Regions from separate parts of the Homo sapiens genome. Here region 1 is linked to region 2. The links are contacts of gene promoters, found by promoter capture Hi-C in human tissues and cell types (Jung and others, 2019). All regions are on one chromosome and are shown on one strand. Each heading gives the region's core, a stretch centred on a gene start or on the middle of the fragment in contact. The rest is flanking DNA. Distances are from core to core; before and after follow the strand shown. Region 1 overlaps KIF16B (kinesin family member 16B). Region 2 holds the start of OTOR (otoraplin).

What was found. Contacts are between HindIII fragments. The study calls those that stand out against the background at their distance.
Region 1: a contact is called between a fragment that was not itself captured here and the fragment with the promoter of OTOR in region 2, in 1 of the 25 tissues and cell types used here (mesendoderm cells).

Annotation. Positions count from the first base shown.
Region 1 is chr20:16,333,974-16,337,292 of GRCh38, reverse strand. It overlaps KIF16B (kinesin family member 16B), which reads left to right. Exons shown (of 26, transcript NM_024704.5): 24 at 1,278-1,367. Among named protein-coding and RNA genes, the nearest start is that of KIF16B, 240 kb to the left of the region's middle. The HindIII fragment of the contact is 3,874 bases long and covers 4-3,319 here.
Region 2 is chr20:16,746,440-16,749,974 of GRCh38, reverse strand. OTOR (otoraplin) reads right to left here and starts at 1,617. Exons shown (of 4, transcript NM_020157.4): 1 at 1,459-1,617; 2 at 969-1,108; 3 at 1-72. The coding sequence starts at 1,573. The HindIII fragment of the contact is 9,309 bases long and covers 1-3,535 here.

The sequences.
Region 1 (3,319 bases), core at 691-3,190, 410 kb after region 2:
GATGGCCCTATGATTTACCTGCGGGAGAATCAGGCTGAATTATTGTGCTTGAGAAGAGCATTTCCCTTATGTGCAAGTTAAGTTCCCATAAAGGAGCATGGCCCGTGCAAAGGCCCTGAGGTGGCAGAGAATATGCGCATTCAGGGATGCAGCAGGAGTGAAGACACCTAGCAGGAGAGGCCTGCAGACAGGCTGCTGTGGGCAGGTTAAAAATGTAGGTCTTTTTCTATGAGCAGCATGAAGCTCGCCTTAAGGAGGGTCACCTCCCAAATCAAATGGTTAGATTTGAGTTCTAAAAGATCTGTTTTCAGTCATGCAGAAAAGAGATTGGAGAGGGCAGATGTGGGGTGGACAGTTGGGAGATGCTCTTGCAGAGTCCACAGGAGACCCAAAGGCCTAAAGTCAAATGGTGCTGATGGCAAAGGATGGAAGGATAAAGTTCTAAGAAATGTTTAGAAGGCAAAAGGAGCAAGACTTAGCACTTGCTTGAATGCAGGGATAGGAAGAGAAGGGAGGTCAGGGATGACTTCAGCATCTCTGGCTGGCATTGCTGGGTAGGTGGTGGTAGAATGCTTTGAAATGGAGAATACCAGAGCTGGGACTGGAGGGAATATGTTGAGTATGGTTTTGGACAAATTGAATTGGAGGTTCCTGGGTGACATGGGAAGAAAGATGTGCCAAGTTGGGTATGTGGGTCTAGAGCGCAGAAGAAAGGTGGGAAGTGGAGAAAGGAATTGGAGATTCATTGGCCTGTGCTTTAGGTGTGATTGTAAAGGCTGATGTGGTCTACCTGCCTCTTCTTGTCACTGTGACCTTTCATATGTGAGCTGATGTGCAACAGAGTTTCCACTCCAGCTAGCCTATTAAAGGCTGAATTGATTATTCTCCCTCTGAAAAAAAGCAAAATATACTGTTGTGTTATTATACTAACAATGACTGAGAGGCAGTGAGATTTTTTTCCTCTTCCACCTCCTCTTCTTTAAAAGTGTTTCTATAAAAAGGGACACTTTTTATAACCAATTAAGAGATGACCATCTGCCCTTCACTTTACATAGACAAGCTGCCTGTAACAAGATCTGAGAGCCAAAGCTGCATGTTTAAGTAAAGTACATTTATTATTTCTAAGTTGTATTTATGCAGCTAGATTAATGTTTTCAGTTCTAGAGAAATTTTACATGCTAATCACTTTTTTTAAATTTAATTTTTAAATTCTTTTGAAAAATTTTAGTGACTTTTGCTTCTTAATGCTTATTCATTTTGGTTTTCCTGGTTAATAGATTACTGTCCTAGATGAGACATGGACTGTATTCAGGCGTTACAGTCGTTTTCGAGAAATGCATAAAACATTGAAGTTAAAGTATGCAGAGGTAAGTTATGAAATTATTATCTCCGATTAAGAGCATTCATTTTATAAAGTAAATGAGCTGATTGCATTAGCAATGTTATCTCTCTCTCTGTCTCTCTCTTTCAGATACTAGCTTATTAGTGTCACTAAGTCTTACTTCAATAACCCATTTATCAAAGATAACTTTAAATTTTTTCTTCTTTGTTCCATTTCTGTTCTACACAATTTAAACATTTTCTTAACAGAAGATTTTGAAAGTGATATTACAATGACAGTAAGTGAACTCCATCCTTCTCATAAATTTTATGGTAAATTTTAAATACATATTTTAATCAATTTATAACTTCTCAATTATGAGACCTATTAAAATTAAAATAACTTCTTCATATAGATTTACACTTTTTTCTTTAAAAAAGAAAGACTACATTCATGCTTAGTCTTATACTTAATGAGAAGTCAAGTCATAACAGTTATTTTGCCATTGAACGTAGAGGGAAAGGTAGATAGAAAATGCAGAATTATCTAGAGACCAGAAAGCATTTCATGCATCAGATCAAATATCCAGAGGGTATTAATACATTAGTCGTCTTTTCCTTTTTGAACAAACACAGGTTTCTCAAGTAATTTTAAGCAAAGTATTCCTAGAAGGAATGTGTGTTTTCCAAGTAATGATGATGATGAAGATGATTTTACTTCAACTAAAGGAAGCATTATCTAGGTCCAGCTTTCTGGGAATTTTGTGTTGAACTGACTGCAGATCAATCAACAGTCATTGTCTAACTAGCCTGCTTTCACCAATTATTGGTTTTGAGCACTATTTTTATGGTTTTTTATGACATTTTAAAATATAGTTAGAAATTTGGTTCACTAATTTGGTTCACATTAAATAATGTTTCCTTAACATTCTCATGGCTTCCACCCTTTTTAAAATCTGATATAAAATACAAAGAGAAATAGCTTTTTGTAAATAAAATAGTTCCCTGGTGTATAGAAGAATCTTGAGCTCAGGTAGAATTAAGCTGTGTTAGTTTGTTTGCATTGCTATAAAGGATTACCAGAGACTGGGTAATTTATGAAGAAAAGAGGTTTATTTGACTTACAGTTCTACAGGCTGTACATGAAGCACTTCTGGTGAGGGCCTCAGGAAGCTTCCAATCATGGTGGAATATGAAGGGGACCCAGTGTGTCACATGGGGAGACAGGGAGCAAGAGAGAAAGGAGGGGGTCCTAGACTCTTTTTCACAATCAGATCTCAAGGTACTCATTACCATGGGATACCATCAAGCTGTTTGTGAGGAATCTGCCCTCAAGATCCAACACCTCCTACTAGGCCCCACCTCCAACATTGGGGATCATATTTCAACATGAGATTTGGAAGGAACACACATCCAAACCATATCTTAAGCTATCTCTGAAATTCTGTTACTAAGCTGTCACACTCTCTAGTCTTTTATTAAAAATTTAGGAAACTTCAAGTGGGAATTTGTTCCCAAGAGGCTTCTTGTAACAGTAATAACATCAAAATCAAGTTATTAAGTTTGTTTCTGCAGTTTAATTTTCGTGGCTGAAATCAATATTGACAATTAAAAGAAGTATTGTGTACATATGAAATGTACAGAGCAGCTTGTTTTTAAAGTGAGCTTTGCAGCTCATTAACCACTTGGTTTTAAGTTACTACATCAGTATTTTAATAACGGACGGATTTTGCGTATTTAATTAAACTCACTGAATTCCCAAAGCAATACCTAGCAAAAGCAATTTCCATGAAATAAAAGCACTCAGACTTTATATACACACACACACATTCATTCCAGGATGTATTTATTTTATATTGATTATTTGATTACTTCAACCCATTCTGTGTAGGCACATTTTTCTGGATTCCAGTAAGACTGTGACAGACAAGAACAAAAATTTCTTCTTCTATATATCTTAAATATGGGGCAGACAGTAAACAAGGAGAAAATAATAGCT
Region 2 (3,535 bases), core at 368-2,867:
ACGCTGTTCCTTGACCAAGTTCCTGGGGAAATAACCCACGACTCCCATCTCGTCCTGGCCATCACCATAAACCTAAGTGCCCAGAAGAATAGCAATCAGGAAAAAGCTGATGCTGAGTGTCTTCTGAGAAACTCGCAGGCGTCCTCTTTGCTGATAGTGAGAATCATAGCTGCCAATACCTCCCTTTCACTCCGGGGTCCAGGGGGCGCTGCGGCAAATCCGAAGTTTACTTGGAGCACTAAGTTAACCCGCAGGAATTGTGCATCTACTGTTTAGTGGCCCAGTCTTATTTCGCTACTTTAGCATGACTTTATTTTACGCAATCTTGTGAGTTGCCTGAAATCTTTTTTGAACCCATAAATAAATATATAAAGACAGTACATTTTTTTAAAGTACTGTAGACACTTATTTTAAATGATGCAAATTTCTCAGTTTTCAACAATTCAAATGAACAGACTTAAATGGCTTTAAATTTAATCCTTCATTAATTTAGAACTTACCTTTAGGGTTGCAGATGAGGACAGAAAATCATCCCTGCTTCATCCCTCCCCAGGGACCGCCCCTGTATATTTTAACTGAAGAACGCTGATTCTTTCGAATTAATTAGGGTGCAAAGTTTCCTAAAAGAATATTGATACTTAGACTCACTGCCAACACACATGCCTTCTACTTGGCAAATCTTCTCAGACGTTTTCGGATAAGATTCAAATTCTTTGGGATGTTTAAGCCCCCATGTATTTGACTCTTTTTTTACCAAAATATCACATTAACCTACATTTGGTTTTGTTACGAAATTGATCTTTCTTTCTTTAAAATGCAATAGCAAATATACCTGAATTTTTGCATTTCCATCTACAATCACTACATGGTTCTTAACAACTAGTATTAAGCATTAAAATAGGTTGAAGGTAGGTAATCAAGGAAAGGTTAAGAGCAATATTCGTCAATAGGTGTTTAAATTATCTTACACTGCCAGCCCAAAATTCTCCAGCTCCATTTTCTTTTACCAGCTTTGAGTACACATAGATCTGCTGCCCTTTTTTAACGTTAATGAATCTACAGTCCGGGGCATTATAATCTTCTTGAGCACTAGCCAGAGAAATAGTATCTGGAAGAAAAAAAATTTAAATGATTACATTTTAGGCTCCTGAATTTTATAACAGTAAAAGGCAATGTATATTAGAAAAACTAGAAAATCAGAGTGACTGATAATTCCCAGTTCATAGCTGGTGTCTATCCAAGAGAAAGAAGACAGCCAAGATATTAAAGCTGCAACAAAACTCAGCCAAGTGAATTCTCCGTAGTAAGATACCAAACATGCAGACCAGAAGAAACAAAGCTGATAACATACACATTGGAGAAGATTCACTTCAAAGTATAATTCGATTTTATGCTATTAGTGGATATATTTTCAATTATGTAATAGAAAGATAATGAAAAGCATAAAAAAGTCCTTACAGACACACTCATCATCTGCACAGAGCTTCTTGGAAGCTAGACGGTCCATAAATATTCCATGCACAGCACATACAGCCACAAGACCCGGGAGGAAAAGTAACAATATTCTTGCCATCTTCCTTTTTTCTGTTTTAACTTGAACTCTGACTGGAAGCGGGGACTGACTTCAGTGGTTCCTGCCTTTTATGTGAAAGCCAGAGCTCTGGGTAAATACCCTGGCCAATTAGAAGGGCCTACCACCCCTCCGTTTTCATAACAGGCTGCTCGGCTTCAGGGGCTATTTAGCGTCTGATTTTCCAAACAGAGTCAAACTCTGTGTCTTTCTATACACAGATAATATCCAAAATGGTCCACTATTGTTAAAGCCGCTTTAGCAGTGGTCTATTGTATCAATCAGTAGGGCTTTGCTGAGAGGACTATGAGAATTTCAAACCATTTTTAGTTTTAATTCACCCCTAATTTTCCTTCAGCTTATGAGCAAAGACATACTAGTTGTAGGAATTTGTTGAAAATGTGAGATCTATAGCACAAATAATTTGATTTAAACAAATTCAATTAATAAATCTGGATTTACGTAATAGATAAATGAAAGATTCTTATGCTTACAAATCTTTCATGATAGGATTCTTAGAAGGCATGCCTGTCCCAGGCTAGAGATGAATTCTAACATACTAATTGATGCCCCATTTAGACCCTACCAGTGGGGAAAGAGATGGGTGGGTTGGGAAAAATAGGTCAATCTTTCCCCTACCTCTTCTCTCTAAGACTTTTGCAATTCAGTCTCAAATGCTCAAGGGTGACAGGTCAAAGAGAAGAGAGTGAAGTTACAAGTTTATGTTACCTGGAACTTCCTGCTTCTGAGCATGTTTCCCATGGGGAGAGGAGCACTCCTAGAGGCACCAAAGTGGAACCGCCAGTCCCTAGCTCCGTCTATTCAGCAAATATTTACTGAGCACTTACTGTGCCAGGTATAGTTCTGGGCACTAAAGATATAGCAGTAAATTTAAAAAAAATATTTTGGCCCCAAGTGTTGCTTTCTATTAGAAGAGACAGACAGTAAGTTACTGCTTTTTATAGGGTGTTTGAGGCTGGCATCTCTCCCATAAGGTGGCCCTTCCCCTGTTCTTATCCATTGCTTCTAGAATAGAGATCCTCTCAGGATGCCTTCTCCACCTTGGTTGATGATGTGACTTCGGAGCAGTGCCTTCTCCCCCAACCCCAAAGTCGTAACCTCATAAAATGAGGGACAAGAATTTAACTTACTAAATAATTTTGTGCAATACAATTTCCCAAGGGATAAATGGGTAAGGCAAAATATAATAAAAAGGTTTTTTGTTTTGGGTATATGTGTGTGTGTGATAGAGTTGTATTGGTTTGAGTGCATCTGTGTGTGTATGTAAAAGAGTTTTGGTGTGGGTATGGGTGTGGGTATGTGTGGCTGTGTGTGAGTGTGTGTGTGTGGCTGTGTGTGTATGTGTGTGTGACTTTCAAGGGAGGATCTTTTATATAGCTGGTCCTGATTGGAAAGTCTGTTTTATTCATACCTTCATTATAGACAAGGAAACTGAGGCACAGCAAATGCCAGAGTGGTCTTTTTGTTTTTTGTTGCTTTTTTTTTTTTTTTTTTTTTCCGAGATGGAGTATTGCTCTGTCACCCAGGATGGAGTGCACTGGTGCAATCTCGGCTCACTGCACCCTCTGTCTCCAGGGTTCAAGCAATTCTGCTGCCTCAGCCTCCCAAGTAGCTGGGCTGGCAGGTGTGCACCACCATGCCCAGCTAATTTTTGTATTTTTAGTAGAGACGGGGTTTCACCATATTGGCCAGCCTGGTCTCAAACTCCTGACCTCAAGTGATCCGCCCTCCTCAGCCTCCCAGAATGCTGGGATTACAGGCATGAGCCACCGCACCTGTCCTAAAGTGGTCATTTTGAACCATCCTATCTAAAGGTTACCAGAGGGATCATGGTTCAATGCTATTTCAATTCATTGTTGTCAACTTGGAATTGACAAATTAGAATAAATCATTTATTTCCTGTTTCACATCAAGGAAAGATTGAATTCGATATTATTTTTGAAA